Regions from separate parts of the Homo sapiens genome. Here region 2 is linked to region 1. The links are contacts of gene promoters, found by promoter capture Hi-C in human tissues and cell types (Jung and others, 2019). All regions are on one chromosome and are shown on one strand. The core of a region is centred on a gene start or on the middle of the fragment in contact, and the rest is flanking DNA. Distances in the headings are between cores, read along the strand shown. Region 1 holds the start of PI4KA (phosphatidylinositol 4-kinase alpha). Region 2 overlaps MED15 (mediator complex subunit 15).

What was found. The method cuts DNA at HindIII sites, captures the fragments that hold promoters and counts their contacts. A contact is called where the count stands out against the background at its distance.
Region 2: a fragment that was not itself captured here is called in contact with the fragment with the promoter of PI4KA in region 1 in 1 of the 25 tissues and cell types used here (spleen).

What each region holds. Positions count from the first base shown.
Region 1 is chr22:20,856,561-20,861,260 of GRCh38, reverse strand. It overlaps PI4KA (phosphatidylinositol 4-kinase alpha), which reads left to right and starts at 2,450. Exons shown (of 55, transcript NM_058004.4): 1 at 2,450-2,691. The coding sequence starts at 2,536. SNAP29 (synaptosome associated protein 29) reads right to left here and starts at 2,254. Exons shown (of 5, transcript NM_004782.4): 1 at 1,914-2,254. The coding sequence starts at 2,150. RefSeq lists an enhancer at 1,523-2,332 and silencers at 2,012-2,771, 2,792-2,841. The HindIII fragment of the contact is 12,507 bases long and covers 1-4,700 here.
Region 2 is chr22:20,530,646-20,535,345 of GRCh38, reverse strand. The region is part of intron 1 of MED15 (mediator complex subunit 15); the gene reads right to left. Among named protein-coding and RNA genes, the nearest start is that of MED15, 25 kb to the right of the region's middle. RefSeq lists an enhancer at 4,199-4,700. The HindIII fragment of the contact is 8,855 bases long and covers 1-4,700 here.

The DNA of each region.
Region 1 (4,700 bases), core at 1,201-3,700:
CCTTAGTCCCAGCTACTCAGGAGGCTGAGGCAGGAGAATCACTTGAACCCAGGAGGCGGAGGCTGTAGTGAGCCAAGTTGGTGCCACTGCACTCCAGTCTGGTGACAGAGCGAGAATCTGTCTCAAAAAAAAAAAAAAAAAACCACAGGGAGGTGGATCAATGAGGGATACATGAACAGAGAGAGGTGGGGAAGGGAATTAACCCAAGAAAACAGCAAGGGGAAATGATAGCGTGTTGCTCTGTCGCCCAAGCTGGAGTGCAGTGGTATGAACATGGCTCACTGCAACCTTGACATCCTGGGCTCAAGCGGTCCTCCTGCCTCAGCCTCCTCAGTAGCTGCACTCACATGTGTGTGCCACCATGCCTGGCTAATTTTTCAAATTTTGTAGAGACGCAGTTACCCCTGCTGGTCTCAAACTCCTGGGCTAAAATGATCTGCCTACCTCAGCCTTACAAATTGTTGGGATTACAGAAGTACAACCGCGCCTGGCTTATACATTTTTTTAAACCTTTTTTTTTCTCTGTCCAAACAAAACTGTTTCATTAGCAGGCTGAAGAGAGACTGTGGTGTACAATAAAGAATCATTCTCGACCGGTATGGTGGCTCACGCCTGTAATCCCAGCCCTTTGGGAGGCCAAAGCGGGCGGACTGCCTGAGGTCAGGAGTTCCAGACCAGCCTGGCCAACGGGGCAAAACCCTGTCTCCACTACAAATACAAAAAAAATTAGCCGGGTGTGGCGGCGCACCTGTAGTCCCAGCTACTCGGGAGGCTGAGGCAGGAGAATCGTCTGAATCCCGGAGGCGGAAGTTGCAGTGAGCCCAGATCATGCCACTGTACCCAAGCAAGGGCGACAGAGCGAGATTCCATCTCAAAAAAAAAAAAAAAAGAAAAAGAAAAAGACCCTCCAGGATCTCGGTCTGTTGCCCATGCTGGAGTGCAGCAGCACGATCTCAGCTAACTGCAACCTCTGCCTCCCGGGTACAAGCGATTCTCCTACCTCAGCCTCCTGAGTAGCTGCGACTACAGGCGCACCGCCACACCCGGCTAGTTTTTTTTTTTTTTTAATTTTAGTGGAGACAGGGTTTCACCATGTTGCCCAGGCGGGTCTCGAACTCCTGAGCTCAGGCGATCCGACGCCTAGGCCTCCCAAAGTGCTGGGATTACAGGCGTGAGTCACTGCGCTCGGCCAGAATAATTGTTATTGAAGGTACTACTCTCTGAAATCTAAGGATGGGAAGAACTGATGAAGATGAGTTGGAGCAACAAACTCTTAACCCGCACACTATTTGTCTAGGATTTGGGAAGTAAAGGTAAGACCCTGGACTCAATCAAACCCAGGCTTTGGTCAACTAGGCAGCTGTCTGGGCTGAAGGGACTTCAATACCTCTATTGGTTGGTTAGGTGGAGATGTCAATGATGCGGGAAGAACTCGTGGACCACCTGCCCTGATGCTTCAGGGTATCACCTGACACTCGCAGGCACATAGTCCTCTCTTTCTGGCTCACTCCGGAAGGAATGGCCAAAACCCTGTGCCAGATTTTGCACAGGAAATAATGTCGAAGAAACGGACTCTCCATTTCCCAAACCTAGGACCTGCTGTTCAGAATTTTTACTCACCTGGACAGAAAATAATCTGGCGTTTCCCCGTGAGCTAGGCGTAAGAAAAAAAAAATCAACGAAGCAGACTAATAGCTAAGGAAGATTTCTGGGGTAAACTGCCCTCTTCAAGTACTCCAGATGCACATACCTTTACATAGTTAACAGATTGTTACCACCATCGAGTCACTAAGGTGCAAGAATCTATGCTAGGCAACTTGAGAATTCTCAAAAGATTGTGAGCAAAACATTTCTCGTCTCCGTTTGACAGCACAGAGACCGGCGAGTCCACACCAGCCCTGCCCCAGGCTCACCTCGGAAGAGGCGACCCCAACCTTCTCGGACTCGTACATGAGGGCCAGGGACCTGCTGGTGCTGGCGGCCGTGGCCTCAGCCCTGCGGAGGACCTCCTGCCGCAAGTACTGCTGCCTGTCCGCGGGCGCGTCGGGCCCGTCGGGGAGGTCTCGGGCGTCCCTCCAAGGGGCCGGCCGGGCGCCTTCGTCCTCCCCGTCGTCGTCGAACGGATTGTAGCTTTTAGGGTAAGCTGACATGGTGCCGGCGCGGCTCTCGGTCTGGGAAACAGAAGGAGGAGCCCCACTGCCGCCGCCGTCCAGGGCCTCGCCCCGCCCGCCGACCCCGCGGTCGTCGCGCGAACTCCTTCCGCGCGTCGCGCGCAGGTGGCCCCGCCCTCGGAGCCGACCATCGCGCAGGTCGGCTGGGGGGGGCCCACATCCGGCGCGCGCAACCGCAGCCTACTGTCCATCCCCTCTCTCCCCTGCAGCGGTGGGCCCGCCCCGCAGCCACGCCCTATCTAGTGTCAGCAACTGAGAGGTCACGTGGCGGGAAAGCCGGATGCACCTACGCCTGCGCCCTGAGGTCGGGCGCTCGCGGGCCAGGAGCGGGGAGCCGGCGGGCAGCGCCGCGGCTCGTGAGGTGATGGCGGCGGCCCCGGCCCGGGGAGGCGGAGGCGGAGGCGGAGGCGGCGGCGGCTGCTCCGGCTCCGGCTCCAGCGCCTCGCGGGGCTTCTATTTCAACACGGTCCTGTCACTGGCCCGCTCCCTGGCGGTGCAGAGACCAGCATCCTTGGAGAAGGTAACGTCGGCGGGCTGGGCCGCGGGCTGACAGGAGGAGGGGCTGGGGTGACGAAGCGTGGAGGCGGGACGAGGGTCTGTGGGAGGCCGAGGCTGGGCTCGCCGGCAGCCTGTGCGGGAGGGGGCGCCTGAGCGGAGGGATCTAGCGGGGGAAGGAGGCCCTAGTGGGAGGGGCTGGTGAAGAGAGAGGGACCGTGGGGGAAGGGTCGGCGGGGCCTGCAGGGCCGCTGCAGGTGGGTGGTTGTGGGATGGGGGTGGGGGATGTGAGCTGCTGGCCCAGGGAGCATCTTGTGACATCGCGGAGGTGGAGGCTGGATCGTGGGCGGCTGTGCGGAGCAGTGGGATGAGCCGAGGACCAGGGGTCAAGACCTGGGGTTCTGCTTCCGATTTCACCTGCTTTTTATTCCGCGACCTTGGGAAGATGGCTTTCTTGTAAAATGGGGATGCTTTTATCTGCTTTGCCGGCTTCACCGGACTGTGGTGACCAGGAGACGAAACACTGTCTTGAAAGTGCTTTGTGACTGTAAACCAACTGCGCAGTGTTATTCTACGAGGCTGGGGGCGTTAGGTTGGGTAAAAGATTGTGCGTTTGCAGAAGGGACAGTGGCAGGGAAAGGAGAGTGAACTGTCAGTGGGCAGAGAAGTGAACTTGGAATTGCTTCAGAAGAGAAAGGTGAAGTCATGCCAGAGCAATCCTCATCTTGGGAGAAAGGTGAAAGGCAACTCAGTGGTGTGCCTTGAGATCTGGAAAGAGACAGATTTTAGAGTGGGACCTGAATTTGTTCCCTGCACTGGCACTTACTTACCATGTCCTCTTGGGTAAATTTAACTCTTAGAGCCTCTGTATCCTTATCTGTAAAATGAGGTTGTTCTTGAGAATTAAATGAGTTCTAGCATAAAGCATCTTGCACAGGTCAAGGCACAGAGTGGGTGAGCAGTAAATGTCAACTTTCTTTGCCCACCCGTGTGCGATGAGACTCAGCACAGTGTTTAGCTCTGAAAGGATGGAATTATTTTCCCACTCAACTTTTTGGCACATGGAGAGAGGATGTTTTCCGACAAGATAAGACAGTGGTGACCGGAGACCAGCCTGCTGCAGTTGGGAGTGGTTTTGTGGCTGTCTGCTGATGGATGAAGCTGAAAGGCTGTTTTAGGCACTTTTGGCAGAGTGACCTGGTCCTTGGCCTTGTCGGTTCTCATATTTGATTTTATCATGCACCTTCGGGGTGAGAAGGTCCCGGCAGATTGGTGCTAACCTGACTTCTAGCTAAAGAGGGAGTACAATGCAATGGAAAGGACATGAGTTTGGAAAATGGAACCTCTGAATTTAAATCCTGTATCACTTGCTTTCACTAGTGTGACTCTAGACAGGTCAGTTCCCTTCTCTGATACTTTGCTATCTTCTGTCAAATACAAGGTAGTACTTCATAGGAGTATTGTGAAGAGCAACAAAAAGGCACGTGGGTACCTAATGTATGAGCACTGTTATCATTAGATAGTCTGACTAATGGAGTGTAGTGCTGTTTTATTGAATCAAACTCATGCTAGCTAGTCAGCACATTCGCTTCTTAGCAGGAGAGCCAACAAATATATCTTATGACTGATTGCTGGATTCTGGGAGGAGAGAGAAGAGAATGCAGTGAATTGGATGATCTTTAAGAAGCTGGTCCTGCAGCTCCAGCAGTGGTAGCACCCTTTCCACTCAGTAACTCAGAAAAGGGCACCTTGAGCTCAATTTGCTTCTTCAGCCATGTTCACTAGTCACGAGAACATTCTGTAATTGCAACATTCTTAGCTTTGTAGTAATAACTGCTTCAGTTGTCAAGATTATATTTTATGATGGGGCACGGTGGCTCATGCCTGTAATCCCAGCACTTTGGGAGGCTGAGACAGGCAGATCACTTGAGGTCGGAGTTTGAGACCAGCCTGGCCAACATGGTGAAACCCTGTCTCTGCTAAAAACCCAACATTAGCCAGGTGTGGTGGCACGTGCCTCTAATCCCAGCTACT
Region 2 (4,700 bases), core at 785-3,284, 330 kb after region 1:
CTGAGAGGTGCATACATCTGTCTTAATGTAAAAAGAAAAACAAAATGACATTGACCTACCACCCTGCTAGATTCAAAAAGCACTCTTGGGCTGGGCACGATGGCTCAGGTCTGTAATCCCAGCACTTTGGGAGGCCGAGGCAGGTGGATCACCTGAGGTCAGGAGTTTGAGACCAGCCTGGCTAACGTGGTGAAACCCTGTCTCCACTAAAAATACAAAAATTAGTCGGGTGTGGTGGCAGGCACCTGTGGTCCCAGCTACTCGGGAGGCTGAGGCAGGAGAATCGCTTGAACCCTGGAGGCAGAGGTTGCAGTGAGCCAAGATGGCACTACTGCACTCCAGCCTGGGCGACAGAATGAGACTCCTGCACTCTTGGAGTTCCTACCTCCCTGTCTGCTTCCTGAAGCCTGAAGGGAGGCGAGGAGGCAGCAAGGGGTTTCTGCTCACAAGGCATCCAGGTGTGGAACAGACAAGTAAGAAAGGTCACCAGGGCCACAAAAGATGAGAGAGTTAACAATCCAGGAGGATAATGACAACCAACTCACGCGCGGCACTGGGTCAGAGTCCTGGGGAAGCGAGGCATGGGTGGGCTGGGAGGACCCTGTACTCATGCTCTCAGGTTAGCATGGGGCAGGGTCTCCACACCCAGAGGCTGAGACGATAGCTGCTAGGCCCCAAGAAGTCAGTGAGCATTTCTGATAGAAGTGGCTGCACAGGCCTGTTTTCTGAAGGTTGCCTCATCTGTGCCCCTCAAGGCAGGTATGCCCTTCAAAGGCATACTTGTTCTTCCCACCTTCCTTTTTTCTTTTTCTTCTTTTGTTTTTTGAGACAATGTCTCACTCTCTCACAGGTGCAGCGCAGTGGGGCAAACACAGCTCACTGCAGCTTCAAACTCCTGGGCTCAAGTATCCTCTCACCTCAGCCTCCCAAATAGCTGGGACTACAGGCATGCGCCACCACGCCTGGCTAATTTTTTTATTTTTTACTTTTTTTGTAGAGACAGGGTCTTGCTTTGTTGCCCAGGCTGGTCTCAAACTCCTGGCCTTAAGTGATCCTCCACCTTGGCCTCCCAAAGCACTGGGACCAATAGGGAGACTCAGGGAAGAGCAGTAGAAACAGCAGGGGAGCATTTGCAGGCCAAGCAGGACGGCCTGGAGGCTGGCTGTGTAAGGAGTGGGGAGGCTGTGGGTGGCAGATGTGGCCAGGAGTCAGAGAGGAAGAAGGGTGCAGAAGAGTCTGGGGAGTGACAACCAGTTACACAGATGGGCTCTGTGCCCACCAGCAGCGATCAGAGAGCAAAGCCAGGCTTTGATACAAAAGCAGTCCTTTTGAGCTGCTACTGGCCGTTTTTGAGAGTGTCAGCAGACTGGCAGGCCCCAGACAGACACTGTCTTGGTGCAGCAGAGACACCTGGCACAGTCAGAGAGACAAGATCTAGAAACACAGCTTAGTGCAATAGCTCTGAGGTGGTGGGATGACCAGGTTGAAGAAATATGCTTGGTGAGCTGAAGGCAAGGTGGCACCATACACCAGGGGATGTACTGGCAGACGGGCCCTGTCCTGTCCTGGGTAATGTCACAGATGACATGGACACTGTGGGCACCGTCAGCTACTCAGAGCCTGAGGAGCATGGACCAAGCTGGAGGCCAGAAACAGGCAAGTCTTGACAGGCCAACACCAGGAAACCGAGTTGGGGTAAATGTCCAGTTCCACATGAGCTTCGGAGGGTCAGAGTGGGGCCAAGGAGCAAGGTGCTCCTCCGGCAAGGCGCTCCTCCAGCAAGGCTACCGCTCAGAACAGCAGCACTGTGCCATGTCACTCCCACATCTCTCCCACAGCATCCACCCAGGGAGGCCCAGCAGGTTTGGTGGCCAGTAACAGACCCTGTGTGGTTTTGCAGTTCTGACAACTGTATTTTTGAAAATGTCTTTGCTCCTGTTTCTAGTTTGAAGATCAAGTGTCACAAAATAGAGACAAAGCGAAAAAGAACCCAGGAACTCTGCAGCTAATCCCCCACACTTCCCTGCAGATGCCTGCCCTTTCCTCTCCAGCTGGCCTGGCGCTTTTCAGAGGCATCCCCTGCCTGGACATTGACTCCAGGAGGGTACCCATTTCACACTCCTGCTGAGGTCAAGTCCCCTTCCTTCCTCCCTTAGACCTAACACACCCGCTGCGGGAGGCTGCAGGCAGGACCCAGGCCCACCTTCAGAACAGCACTGGCTGCTCCCAAAGCCCCCTTCTGATCTCCCTGAGCTGGGCTCTGCTGCCATCCCCAGCATGCCTTCCTGAGCAGCCAGACCCGAATGGCTACTCCTCAGTCTCTGTCTCCTGAAAACAAAACCCTTCGAGCCACTGTCACGAAATGAAAGGAAACTATCACACAAGGAGACAGCCCCCAACATGGAGTAAGGAGCACAGCCTGAGACAAAGAACAGAGAACCCACATGTCACAGTGAGCTCTTCCCCCACACAAGCAAGCCGGGAAGACGAGGGCCTGTCCAGCCAGAGGAGGACAAAGAGCAGACTGGTGTCAGCTCACAAGGGAAGACCCTTGATGGCTGTCCTGCCACAGTCCTGTCCAACATAAGCAACAGGTTCACAAACAGTACAGGCCTATGAGGCGGCCACCAAAGAACCCAAGGCTGCCTGGGTGGTGCTCGCTCTAGCTGAGGAAGGGGGCTGGGGGCCACTCCCTGGTTGCGACCAGCCAGACCTCTGAACACAAGGACTGTTACCGGCTCAGAGCACACAGTCCCTTGCTGTGAACTGGGCTCCAATGCTCTGCCTTTGGCCATGGTCTAGCTGGTTGCCATAGCTATGTCTGTGTACTCAGTCAGGGTTCAACTGGTATCTAGCTTAGACTGAAGCCTCCCAGGGGACCGATTCATCATTACAGGCCCTTGGAGCTCCCCCACTAAGGGGTCTGAGGATGTCCTTACTGTCCAGAACTGTTCCCAGAACACAGTGTGTCTTAATGGCATTGCCCGACCCTGCCTGAGCAGCCAGCAGGGATACATCAAGAAAAGCTCTTCGTGTCTTCATCTCCCAGCACCAAGTGCCCATCCCAGAAACTTGGGAACTCCCTTCACTTTCTGACTGCCACCTTTAATTCTCCAAAGTTCAAATCTTTGCCCCAACTCCCACTGCATCTGTGGCAATTCCTCCCAAAGGGCCTCTGTCTCCCGTTCCCATTCCTACCCCCACGCCCTCGCCAGCTCCCCAGGTCACATGACTGCCAGTGAGCAACTGCCACTGAGTGTGGGAAGCAACCCAGGCCCCTGCTTGCTTTGAGCCTCGCTCCTCACCAGCAGAGCAGGCAGCCTGTCCAGGAGCCCACTGAGGAGCCTGCTCCTGCGCCTGCCCCACACACTCTCCCCAGGGCCCCAGGGATGATGACCTACTACCTGGCACATTGCCTGACTATCCCATCAGGCCTGTTAGGGCCTCCCACCCTGCTTCCACCCAGGCACCCCTGCTGTCGGCTGCACAGAAACCCTGTAGCCACCTCACCCATGTCTGTGGCACTTCCTGGAGGAATCTCTGGTTTCTGTGTGCCAGCCCCACTATACTAAGAACACCCTGAGAGCAGAGACAACGGCGTCCACTTTTGTGTGCAGTGGGCAGTCATCACTGCCAGGCACAATAACTGGCTCTTTTTAACACAAGGAGTGGTACTGTCATGCATTTTGATGGGACACGACGTGCAGAACGGAGAATCAGCGTGGCAGCCATGGGGGAATCCAGGCCTCAAACAGGCACGTCCTGGCAGTGGAGGCCAGGGTGCCTGGGAGAAGGCGTGTGCTGGGGCAGGCAGCTGGGCCTGGCAGGAAGCAGACAGGGGAGGAGGGACCTGGGCTCAAATTCCAACCTAGCCACTCACCAGCTCTGGGTCTTGGGAGAGGCACTCCCTCCCCTAAAGCGTAACCTCTTCATAAAGGAGGGGCTCTGAGAGGCTGTGGCCAGGACGAAGGTGCACAGACAGGGCCAGGCAGTGAGGAGAGGCCCACTGTTGGCCTGGTCTGCAGGGCTTCTGCCCAGCATGGGCCTGTTGTTCCTCACCTCCTTCCTATTCCAAATTGAGAAACTGGCAACAGGAGTCCAGTCCCAGTCCTTGTAATCTGAATGAGACTAAGATAAAGCAAAAAACTGGCAAACTGAGCTTCCTAGGGAAGGAGCACAGGGCATCAAACTTAAAGCCTGCTAAGGCCAGGGAGGCCTGAGGCAAGCTGCCCCGGTCTGCCCTCAACCCATCTGGCAGCGCCTCCCTATCCTTCCTTTGCACAAAGGGTGGGGACAGTGCCGACCTCACGGGTAGCCCTGAGGATGATAGTAGTTAATATTATAAGGCACTGGACATACAGGAAGTGCTAGGTATGCGTTAAAGAAATAAGTCAGGCAACAACCTGCCCAAATGTGCAATAGGATGCATCCCAAAACACCTCCGCCATGTGTTGAGGTTATTGTTGCCCCCTCCTCAGCAGACGATGGCCCAATGAGCATGTGCAGCTCCCTCAGGCAGAGCCACCCTCCCATTGGAGCTCTGAGTCACCTGCAGTGTACCCTGAGGCCAGCTCCACCGCCCGCAAGAAGGACACTCACACAGGCATGTTGATGAGGCATGAACTGGCCTCCCCACCCCAACTCCCGCTCTGCTCTGCTCCACGCCCTGACTCTTCCTTCCACAACCGCCCTGGTTCCCA